3 separate regions of the Homo sapiens genome follow, and regions 1 and 2 are each linked to region 3. Evidence: promoter capture Hi-C in 16 types of primary human blood cells and fetal thymus (Javierre and others, 2016). All regions are on one chromosome and are shown on one strand. The core of a region is centred on a gene start or on the middle of the fragment in contact, and the rest is flanking DNA. Distances in the headings are between cores, read along the strand shown.

Region 1 (4,067 bases), core at 1,222-3,721, 1.0 Mb after region 3:
AATTGCTTTTTATTCATCATCAAATAAGCATAATAACAAATTTGGGCATAGTCAAGATACAACGCCTTTGATGGCTTTTCGTTAGTTTTTTGTTTTTGTTTTGTTTTGTTTTTCGCTTGAAAAATAAGTTAAAATCTCAGGAAGAAAGAAAGAAAATCCTAGCGCTTTTTCTTTTCTGAGCTTGCAACTGTTTGTAGCTCAGGCACCCGGATGATTCATCCCATGAAAGCCTTGAGCGCTCCATTTGTTTTGTAGATTTCACTACTCCCTTTGTTCCGCTTCAAACCTTTCAGAGGGCTGAAATGCATTATTACCTTGTTAAAGCTCAACCAAAATCATTTCTACAGCCTGAAGCTGTTTTGACGTGGGTTGAGTATCTCACACAAAAGAATTGCTTTTGTTCCCAGAAGCTCTTATTGGCTGAGTGGCCTTTGCTCTGAGCCAATCAGAAGCTAGTTGTTAGGCTTGGCTGGCTATTTTTAGCCCAACACGCAAAAACACTTGGTCTTGGAGGGGGTCGGCTGGAGAGTGAAAGGCCCTGTAGTAAAAGCCAACAGCTAAATGCATTTTGGATGTCAAGGCGCGTTTGACATTTTCTCTTTAATTCCTCATACGCTGTTACATTAGCATGTGTTTTTCGTAAACAACAAACTTAGAGCTGCATTTCCCAGTCCTGAATTATCCATTTAGTAAAGAGACAGAAAGGCTAAGAAACAGCATTCCCCTTTTATCCAAAAGCAACGCACGGTAGTATCTAGTTATTTCATAACGCAAAAAAAAAAAAGTCAGTTACCGTATTGAGAATACTAAGGTGTTTTTGCCAAAGAATTTTTATGAATTTTCATCTTGAGTTAGAAATTTTCAATGCCTTGCTCATAATGAATTATAGAGTCCTAAAATAATCTTTTCCTCTTGCCCTTTAAATATGTATATAATTACACGAACGAGTATACACATGATGTGTAGCAATTAAAATAATAAATGCTGAGTGTGTTTCATGCATTGAGAAAAAGCATTCTTTTGAGCATGTTCTTCCATTTAAGCCATTACTCAGAGGGCACAAGAAGTATTTTTCCCAAATGCGCTTCAAGAGACAGGGCATTAAAACACACAATTTGTTAATTATCCGATATTATCAGGAAATGAAAGTTGCCAAACGGGAAAAGCCAGGCTCTTAAACTTTGATTTTCCCTCAGCAGTCTATTCAACTGGGCTTATATAAGGAGGAGACAAGCTGAACCCAAATTTTACAACACAAAGCAATTTTTATTGGCAGCAAGGGAGACCCCTTCCTGAAAAAGAAAGAAAAAACCCAAATCTATGTCTAATTCTTAAAATATGTTTCAGGTTGTAGATTTTAGCAATATTTATTATTCAAGCTTGGGAATATGACCTCATTTGCCATGGTTGTTTGCTTATTTTAAGAAAAATGCCTTTCTACTTCTTGTTGCAAGCCATCAGGCAACCATTTAAACATGCAAGCAAAAAGTCTGGATCATGGGCATATTTAAAAATCTGGAAGACTTCAATAAGTTGTAAAGATTTACGATTCCATCGTGGGCTTGCAGAAGGGGTTTGCTGTGGCCTTCTGTGAGCAAGGGCGGCCTAGTATATGGTGGGCATAGGCCAAAGAACTTACCAAAAATTCTACCAGAGTGAAGGGAGCACAAATAGTTTTGGGGGAAAACTTTCCTTGTCTTAAGCAATACCGTATACAGTGTTTAGAAGGAATGTCACCTAGGTTTCAGAAGGTGAATTTGAAAGGCTGAAATAAAGTACTTTAGAAAGAGGTATCTTTTTCTTTCCAACATCAATTTGATGCACACAGGGACAGATTTTGAGAAGCTCTGTAATTGCTCCCAGGAGTTGAGTTAGGTTGAGGTAGTCAACCAGCTGCTAACAATTTAGTTTAATATGCAGTCTTAGTAAATTAAAGGAATCTGATAAATTGAGACCCAGCATGATTCTTATTTGTTTGCTATGGCATAACATGTTGAACGCCAGCAGAAATTAACCCATTGAAATTTTTCTACTCAAGGCCCCCATTTTATTTTCTCACTTTCCTGTGTCAGATGTTTTTGCTCCAGACTTGGTCATCTGAGCAATTCCTTAGTTTTATGCTTATCTACTTAAAAAATATATATATAACAATAATACAAATTCTAGAATCATGCTTATTTTCAGTTTTCTCTCTGTGTTTGTATTTAAACTCCTTGAAGGTAAAAATAAATAAATAAATGAGTCTGTTACTCCTCTTGTGTGTTAACCTTTCTACTTCACATGTAGATCATCTTAAACATGCTTGATGTAGATTTTGTTTTCTGTGGGAGCTGAGACACTTGTGGGAGGAGAAATGTGCAATTTTGTACTTGGCTACATCCCCAGAGGAGTGGTGACCAGAAAAGGGAAAGACAGCTTGCCAGATACCTAAAGGATAAATGAGATATTGAGCTACTGGAAACACCAAAATTTACCATTGATTCTTTCTACACACTAAACTGTTACTTGTGATAGTAGTTGTAAAAAACTGCATGTTTATTAACCGAAAGGTGATTGTTCTAACATTCACTGGGAAAGAGTGAAATGGTTGGAATAACACTTTAGCACTCATACCTAAAGATTTGCAAAGCCAAAATGCCAGGCAAAATTAAAACAGGCTAAATTCATATGTACAAAAGAGCTGTAATTCTTTTATGATGAAATAGATATTTTCTTAGAAGCAACAGTTTCCTGTGTTCTGTAAAGTAAGCCAAGTCAGTAATGGGTAACTCTGGCATCTCCTGCTCTCCTCTCACCTCATGGATGCCAGGCTTTCGAGTTGTATTTCAATTCTCCCTTACATTGTGGCCTCTTTGCCTCACTCCCAAATTCCTCATACCTCTTCCAAACTTGCAGTTAGGAGTGAATATAGGATCCTCCTCCTCCTCCTCTTTCTCTCTCTGTCTTTAGATTAAACTGAAAACATGGCAGCTTTTTCCAAAATTATTCATTCTTTGTCAGGTGTGTGTGTATGTGTCTTATTGTGCCATTGAAAATAAGAATGTGGAGGGTGCCTTACTATGCCATAGAACAATTTATTGTGTTTCTGGGTTGCCATCTTTTCAATCTGATTAATTTATGGTCCCATAGAGAATCTCTGGTGTGAATTATGTTAGCTTTGTTGAGTCCACTGTGCAGAAAGTCAGTTTGTATCAATATTCTTCTAGGCTTAACAGTTTCTCCTTAAAAGGCTTAATAATTGCCTGTCATTTGTCTCTTGGCCCATTTTTATCTTGGAAATGATTGGCTGTTAGGCAGACCATTTGTGTAATATTACTATAAAAGCCTTAAAACATGGGAAGAAAATTAGAATCATATGTGTATATACTAGGTTAGTAATGAATAAAGTGCTTTTCTACAAAATTTTGAGGACCTTTTAGGAAATCAAAATCTTTAATGACATGAGGATATCCCAAGTCAGAATAAGGGGAAGTTTGAGGGAAAATATTTAAATTAGAGGGTAACTTTGTGCAAGGACAAGTGATATTTGTAATTTTTAGTGTACAGGCTACCATGAAGCTTACAAATGAAAACAACAGCAACAATTTAAAACCAAACCATCTAAGTCAAATTTTATCTAAAATGAGGTAAATGCTATGACAAAAATGAAAATTTTATTGCAATTCAAGATCAAGTAGATGTCATTATGGTTTTTCAAATTATGAAATAAATAAGGAAGGAAAATGTGGCTAAACCTACAAAGAACTATGAAGATTAAAAATGGAACGTGGAATTTGTACTGTCTTAATTCCTCTGGCTTTTATAAACAAATAAAAGTAATATTGTATACTGCTAATAGCCACTCTAAAATATATTCCCCAAATGAGAAAATAATTGTATTTACATTATATTATAAGAATAAACTTAATTATGTTTTCAAAAGGAAATACTGGAAAGTGTAATAATAGACCTCAGAATAAAATAACACAATCCAAATATCCCTTATATTTTTAATAAAACAGCAGAACCTATTATTATAGATTTTCCACTAAGGAAAAATATGGAAAGAAGCTGAGGGAAAACATAGG
Region 2 (4,146 bases), core at 396-2,895, 1.0 Mb after region 3:
ATAGTCTTTTGTCACACAGTGTTCCAAGGCCACAGTCAAATTAGGAAAACCAATATAATTGCACACATTTCCAACTAAAGTGTATTAGTCAGACTAGTTCTATTTTAGAAGAGCCAGTTTTGGGGCAGGGTGAAAAACAAGAGGAGTGGCTGGCTGTACCCATTAAATTGTTCAATATGAGATATGGAAAGCAAAGGTGCAAAGTCAAACTCATAAAATAAAGTGGAATGGGGCTATATCTTCCACATTTTGTATTTTTCATAACCACCACATATGATAGCTACCTGCTTACTACAAAATTAATTGTTCATTTTTATTCTAGAGCATCTGCAGCTTTTATTTTTTTCTCTCTCAGAAAATGAGTGTCATCTTCTACATATTTAGAGTCATAGATCCAGTTAATATTTCTGATATGTAAGTGTTAGAGTATTTAGCTCAGTGTTTGGCATATAATACTAAAGACCTAAACAAATATATGATTATATAAGTAAATTTATTTCATGATTTGAGACCAAATGGTAAAACCATCATTTTGTTAGAAAGCAAGTCAGGCCCCTAAAATAACATTATACATCCAGAAGTATTTTTTGAATGTGCATTTGAAAAGAAAAAACACATACTTGAGATTCCCTTCTTGAAAATCTTTAAGAAATTTTGATTCAATGTGTTTTCAAATGTTATGATGAGATTACTTTAGATTTATACTTAAGATAAAATGTATAGGTAGGAATTTTGATGAGATATTCTCCTTGTCATGTACTGTACTTACTGATTGGAATGCTTGCTCTAGTAACAATTGAAAAAACATTTTTTTCATGCCGCACAAAATTATTTATTATTATGGAGAAGCAGGAAGCCAGCTAGTAATATGGATGAGAAAACTTTACCTTATTAGGCAACAGAGTAGCTTTCGTGAAGATCAACATCCTCACATCCTGATAAACTAATCTCTCTTAGCAGGAAGTAAAAGGAAACTGGAAAGAGGATGCTGTCTTTATCTTCCACAAGCGTAATGTTATTTTTGTGATAGCAGGAGATAGAAGGGAGCCAGGGTGAGAAAAGGGAACCTAATTCTGCACTATGATTAGCTGAATGTGAGCTTCTTGACGTAAGACATCAAAGAGTATATGTATTTTATTCCTCATAATTCATTTGCAGAAGTTAGAAGTTGTGCATGTGTTTGCAAAAGTTAAATGTGTACATGCGTGTGTGTTTGTGTATGTGTTAGAAACCTTTCTTAATACTGGCAATTAGGTTTTTCTCATTAGAAAAAATAAATAGAAACATAGATTTTACATAAAAACAATATCACAGCTATGAAAAGAAAAGAAATATAATGACAAGCTTTATTTCAAGAAAATATAAAGATGCAAGAAACTTTTTTGTCAAAATAAGATAAAACTGGAAGATAATAAGATAAAGGATAAAAAGATAATAATAGAGGAAGAGTGAGAAAAGCAAAAAATTGTGAGAAGTTTATTACAAAATGGGTATTGATGGTTTCTTTAATTTCATACTTTTGGAGTTATTTTGTATTTTGCTGAAAGGTTTAGCTGTTTGAACAAATTATTGCCATGACTCTTATCAGTCAGACGTCTTTAGGGCAGTCATGGAGGTATTTGGCTCAGATCTACCTTCAAGAGAAAACCTGTCAAAAGGAAGACAAATTAGATAACAGCCTCCAGGTGCAAGTATGCCTCAAATTTGAACCAAGACCTTATGATACCCAGACATTTTTCAGCCAATGAGTATGGCAGGGGTACAACAGAACCTCAATTTTCAGGCACAGGACTCCTCAAAGAGCAGTCCTCCTAAAGGAGATCCCCATCATGTTGGCTGGGATTTTGTCAGAGCTGCAGTGCTGTGTGAGGCTCATCCTATCCAATCTTCTGGCTTCCTTCTCACCTTTCATAGGAGCCAGGCCTTTACTACAGTGTGAAAGCTTCCTTTGGATGTTCCTGCCTTCTTTGCCTTTACATGTTTAAAAGGTATTATTCTCCAATAATTTTTTTTTTGCACTTCTAACTCAATCTTGGCTTTCCCTTTCTAGAAAAACCAAGTGACATTAATTGATACTGGACACAATCTGTGATATCAGTGATTAAGTTGGAGTTATGCAAGTGGATCATTTGCCACCAACCAGAAAATAAGGATTCCTTTCAAGTGGATGTGGGATATGAATATTTTTTGGCACAAGACAGTAGTTCAATTGGTAAAAATTTCATCAATGGTGACTTTGGAGAATGTCATGTTGCAGGTGAATGTCCTAACCAGGACAATATTCATGCATTTGAAAAATCCAGCGTGAGAAACATAGAAAGGTAATGAAATTGACTAATTATTACTAAGTTGCATTTGTGGGACAATGAAAATTGAATACGTTGCATTTGTGGGATGATGAAAAATTGAGCATTGTTAACAAAAGCCCAAATGTAAGTGTAAAAGCCAGAAGGCATCTTGGGCAGCCTATAAAGTGTTTTTATCTTTTGCAAAGAGAGAGAGTGGCCATAGCTGGAGAGGAAATTCAGGATCTGCTGTTTAGGGCCACTGAGCTGCAAAGATGATTGGATGCTCATAGAGGAATTTTCTTAGGCTAAGGTCAGAGATCTGCTTGGGAAAACTTGAGGCATTAAAATATTGGAAGAGGACATCTGGGTAAATTTCCCCAAGGATCTACAACTTGAGAGCCTAAAGAATTGACCCACCATTCTCTATGAAGAGCTAGACATTTTCTCATGCAAGAAGATACTTCAGAGGCCACTTTCACATAAGATAAATGGTATGTTTATCAGGAATTACTCCCACTTTTTCTCTAGGCTTCTAGGCTAAAAATCATGGCTAAATTCCAGCATAACCCAGCTGAGGGATAAAAACATACTGGGACTGATAAGTAAGAAAAGAGATAATCATTTCATTAAGTTCAATAATTAGCTAGTATGTGCTTTCAGGATTCAGAATAGTATCCATGAGATTGGATGTTTGAGTATGCCGTGGTTTGAATGTATCCTTCAAAATTCATATGTTGGAAACTTAAGTCCCAGTGCAACAGTGTTGAGAGGTGAGAACTTTAAAAAGTAGTTAGATCATGAGGGCTGTGAACCCTGAAAGAGCCAATCCTTTAAGATGGAACCTGAGTGGCTAACTGGGCCTAAATTCAAACGGGAGCTGAGTTCCATTTGCTGACCAGACATTACACATGCACTCTTCATTCTTGGAAAAACCACATATTGGTATAACTGTGAGATTCTCATATCTGCCTATTTCTGTTTATACTCCTGAGCCAATGGTTACCATCACTTTGATCTAACCAATAGCCTGTGACCCACAGTGAAACTTAACCTCAACCAGCTGAAACTAAGCAAGCTTGCATCCCTCATTTGCACAGCATAGCATAGTGGGAACCTCAGCAGGAACTTTTTCTATAAAGGACAACCCCTGTCTTTGTTCTGGTAGAACACATCTTTGTTTTGTATTGAAGGCTGTGTATCCCCCGTTCACAAACCGCTTGTGGAAATAAAGCCTCTTTAAATCTGATACTTCTTTTTCAGTAGTCTTGTTAACAAGACTCTGTCCTCATTAATGCATTAGTACCATTATTGCAGGAATGAGTTTCTGATAAAAAGATGAATTTTACTTCCTTCCCTCTGTTTTGCATGTGCTCTCTTGCCCTTCTGCCTTCTCCATGGGATGACACAGGAAGAAGACCATCACCAGAGGTAAGCCCTCGATCTTGAACTTCCTAGCCTCCAAAAATGTATGAAATATGTTTCCTGTAAATTACCCAGTCTCAGTTATTCTGTTATAACAGCACAAAATAGACTAAAACAGAGTACTTGCTCACCAGGGCTAGCACTTATGAGTAGAAATGCTAAAGTTTTCTGTTTATTTTTTTTCTTTTTAAACTTGGGGGACTTCTCTTGAAAGACGGGATTTAATGCCCTGACAAAGACCATAGAGCATGGGAAAGATTGGATGCTAGAGTAGGCCTCAGAAACCTGGAGAAAGACTTGGTGAGTTGAAATGTCTGAACTACTAGAGAAGGTAGCAGAGGCATAAAAGGAGTAAAAGAAGGAGGAGTAAAAGGCTCAGGAGGGTGAGTATACAATTTGTGATGCCAGGAAACCCAGCAGAGGAATATACTCCATG
Region 3 (3,731 bases), core at 225-2,724:
TGTTATCATTCTTGATTTTGAATCTGTGATTTGAAGAAGAAACATGTGGTACCCCAAAGACTAGGGCCATGAAATACCCTAAGTATTTACCTGAGTCCTTAAGAGTCAGGGACTGTATACCCGAATGTTTCCCATAATCATTTTCATGTTGAATTCAATGTTTGTTAAGGAACAGGTAATAAAAATATGCAAACTTGAAAGTATTTATATATTTAAAAGCTCAGTGGTGACCACAACAATTATTTAGAATTCAAACCAAGAAAATGTTTTTTCAGGGAAGAGTATTTGACCACTAGTATGATTTAGAATTATGATGCATGGCAATAATTATACCAAACTGCATTTCAGTGACTCTATTATTTTTTCAGATTCTCTACAGACAGTGCAGCCTAGTATCTCCCAGACTTGTACTTCCTATGGCCCTGCACTTGGGGCCCCACTGCCTGGTAGAAATGAAGGTTAGTGTTCGAAAGTATTTAAAGAATCCTGCTAATCCCTATTTTATCCATAAATGTCATCTGTCATAAAGAAACTTTTAGCAGTTTCTCAACTTCTGAGAGGTCTTGTGGGAGGTTTTGCCATAAAGTGCTCTTGTTGAGCTCTTGATATCTATAAGCTGATGCCCTGGGCTTGTCCCAAATGATGCCTCCCACCCATTCATCAGCAGGACACTATCCCAGTTCACACACCTATGCCCCATCTCCACATATGTTTCACCAAAACCATAAATTTTGAAATAGAGTCAATATAAATGTATAACATATTGTATTAGGGCTCTTCAGAGAAAAAGAACCAATAGTATATTTGTGTGTGTTTGTGTATGTGTGCGTATACAGTCATGCACTACACAATGACATTTCAGTCTACAAAGGATTGCATATATGATGGTGATCCCATAAGATTATACCATATTTTTACTGTACCTTTTCTACATTTAGATATGGTAGATACATACATACTTATCATGATGTTATACATACTTATCATGAGGTTACAAGCTACACCATGTAGCCTAGATGTGTAGTAGTCTATGCTGTCCAGGTTTGTGTAGTTACACTCTATGATGTTTGCACAATGATGAAATCACTTAACAATGCATTTCTCAGAACCTGTCTCCATTGTTAAGCAATGCATAACTGGATATGTAAATAAAATGGAAATTGACTCACACAATTATGGAGGCCAAGAAGTCCCATGATCTGCCATCTGCAAGCTGGAGAACCAGGAAACCTGGCAGTGTAATTCAGTCCAAGTCCAAAGAACTGAGAACCAGGGAAGCCAAAGGTGTAACTCCTGGTTTAAGTCTGAAGGCCCACTCACATCCAAGGGCAGGAGAAGATGATATACTAGATCAAGAAGAAAAGAAGCAAATTTTCCCTTCCTCTTTTTGTTTTATTCAAGCTTTCGACAGATTGGATGATGCCTGCCCTTATTGGTGAGAGCCGTCTGCTTTACTAAGTTCACCAATTCAAATGCTGATCTCTTCCGAAAACACTCTTATGGACACACCCAGAATAATGTTTTACCAGCTACCTGGTCATCCTTTAGCCTAGCCAGGTTGATGCATAAATTTAATTATCACACATATAGTCTTACCAATTAGTGACCTTTTCATTCTTTATGGTATTTAACAGTGAAGATTTGTAGATGGTCTGTCTACTTGGTTTTATAGGTTTTGATCAGCACTCAGAAGCTCAGTTTGATCACCCTAGTTTGGCCTGAGCTGAAAGCACTGAAACAGTGAGTTCTTTGGGTCTTACTTCTAGAAACCAGGAAATGAGAGAGATAGTGACTTGGTTTCTCTTATGTTTCCCTTTTGTTCTCTTCTCAGTGGCCTTGCTAACAAGTTTACCTCCAAACTATGAGATTTCAGAAGGAAAACCAAGAGCCATCTCTGCATATGTGAGAGCGGGCAAAGGAAATGTGACAAGGAGAAGAAAGAAGACACACTTGGGCAATGATGATGGGAAGAAGGAAGCACAGGAGAAAATGTAAGAAATGTACAGGTGAGAGAGATCAGGAGAAAGATGGGAAATGTGGGAGAGCAGCAGGAATCATAACAATAATAATGCCAATTTGGAAACGAGAACCAGTGTATAAAGCATACCAATAAGGCCAACGAAGTGCCAACGATGGAAAGCCACCCTATCAGGAGAAAGTAAAGTCATAGCAGATGTTTTATGAGACAGCTCAGAACACAATGACTGACCAAGAAAGCGGCACAAGTTAGAGGTGGAGAAATGACCCAGACCCAGACCTTTAGGGGTCCTGAACTTGGTTCATACCTCATGTCAGAAGGAGTAGTGACCAAAAGAAATTCTCTTTGCTTTAATTATAGAAGCAGGAATATACCTGATTTTGTATGTAACAGCATATGTTTAAGATCTGAATATTTCTATACCCAAAAGCATAATGTATTAGGGTTAATCATTTGAAATTGCCAATATGCACTCATTTTACCTATAAAAACTGTAATTTTGCATGGTTCAAACTAATAGATATGAAGATATTCTCAAGCAAACTTTTTTTTCTTTTGCCTTGAAGCCCATGAGGAAGATCCAAAGAGAACTTTGGCCTTAACTAAGCTTCCTACATTCTCCTGGAGTCGGTGGTTTATGAATGTGGTGCCATCTGGGGAACTGACAACCCCTGATGTGTTCACTCTGCTCGTCTTCCAGGTGAGAGAAGAAGAAGGCGAGAAAGAAAGAGAAGTTCCAGAATTTCACAGGCTGAGGGAGATGGTAGTAACTTCTGTTTATGTTGGTTTCTGTTTATTGGTTTGCTTTTTATTTTGAACTCGTTTGACTTCAGGTTCCAGATTTGTTTTTTTCTTTGTAAACGAGACTTTGACATTGTTAGCAGGCCCATCTGTTTGCTTTTCTTAAATAAAATGTAAATTGGTTTTTGTTTTAAATTTCAGGTGCTTTTAAGTTTGACTCTGCTATTCATTTCCTAAGGTAGTTTGGGCATGGTAGTGCTGGTAAGAACAGAGAAATCTTGCTTTATAGAATCTTTTTGTTCAAATGAATGTACATTTTTAGTATTCGAAAATTATCAGTTTTAATAGGTTTGATTTTCCTGTCTATAATCTGTGTTTTCTTCCTTATTCCCTCATTCTTTCCTATCCCATGGGCTCAGATTTATGCTCTGATCAAATTTCTTTTCATATCTTTCCACCTCACAACACACACAAGAAACCTAATACAAGCCACTATCTGTTTCTTTTTCAATGGAAAAGAAAAGGATTCCTATGGGATCATACTGATTCCTGTGGGCCCCTTGCATAAAAGATTGTAGTGCATTAAATAATGACCCTCCATTGGCCAATCAATCATTATTGAGCACCTAGTTTATGTGGAATACTGTTCATACAATATCTTGAGTAATGATGGGAACAGATTTCATGAGAGATGTTGAAATACTCATGGACATAGACTATCTTGGCAATTATGCTCTTGAGATTCTTTTATAATGGACACATATTTGGAACAGAAAAAAGCTGGAAACTTTCACAAAGGTTTGATCCAATGGCTTTTTAAACATGAATCTAACCATTGTGAAGTTTGGCATCTACTTTGTACCCCCAGCAGTGCCAGCCCGTGTAAGGTATGCAGGTAACAGACAGATGATTGTACTGGGAGTGGTGAAAGTCCTGCCTTAACAAATATTCTCTGTTTTCTCTGCCTCTGTCATACTATAAAAATGTTTTCTTCTCTGGGATTATTTTAAAG

The links. Contacts are between HindIII fragments. The CHiCAGO score rates a contact against its expected background, and 5 or more counts as called.
Region 1: a contact is called between a fragment that was not itself captured here and the fragment with the promoter of CLLU1 in region 3, in 1 of 17 cell types (M2 macrophages). The highest score is 5.5, in M2 macrophages.
Region 2: a fragment that was not itself captured here is called in contact with the fragment with the promoter of CLLU1 in region 3 in 2 of 17 cell types (fetal thymus and endothelial precursors); the score reaches 6.1 in fetal thymus.

What each region holds. Positions count from the first base shown.
Region 1 is chr12:91,377,895-91,381,961 of GRCh38, reverse strand. All of the region lies in intron 4 of LOC105369896 (a long non-coding RNA gene), which reads left to right. Among named protein-coding and RNA genes, the nearest start is that of LINC02823, 53 kb to the right of the region's middle. RefSeq lists enhancers at 1-236, 237-1,070. The HindIII fragment of the contact is 2,179 bases long and covers 1,382-3,560 here.
Region 2 is chr12:91,397,284-91,401,429 of GRCh38, reverse strand. LOC105369896 (a long non-coding RNA gene) reads left to right here. Exons shown (of 9, transcript XR_001749251.2): 3 at 2,051-2,321; 4 at 2,593-3,716. Among named protein-coding and RNA genes, the nearest start is that of LINC02823, 72 kb to the right of the region's middle. The HindIII fragment of the contact is 598 bases long and covers 1,347-1,944 here.
Region 3 is chr12:92,419,274-92,423,004 of GRCh38, reverse strand. It overlaps CLLU1 (chronic lymphocytic leukemia up-regulated 1), which reads right to left and starts at 1,474. Exons shown (of 2, transcript NR_027933.1): 1 at 1,170-1,474. CLLU1-AS1 (CLLU1 antisense RNA 1) reads left to right here. Exons shown (of 3, transcript NR_144319.2): 2 at 1,832-1,991; 3 at 2,545-2,919. The HindIII fragment of the contact is 1,184 bases long and covers 1,404-2,587 here.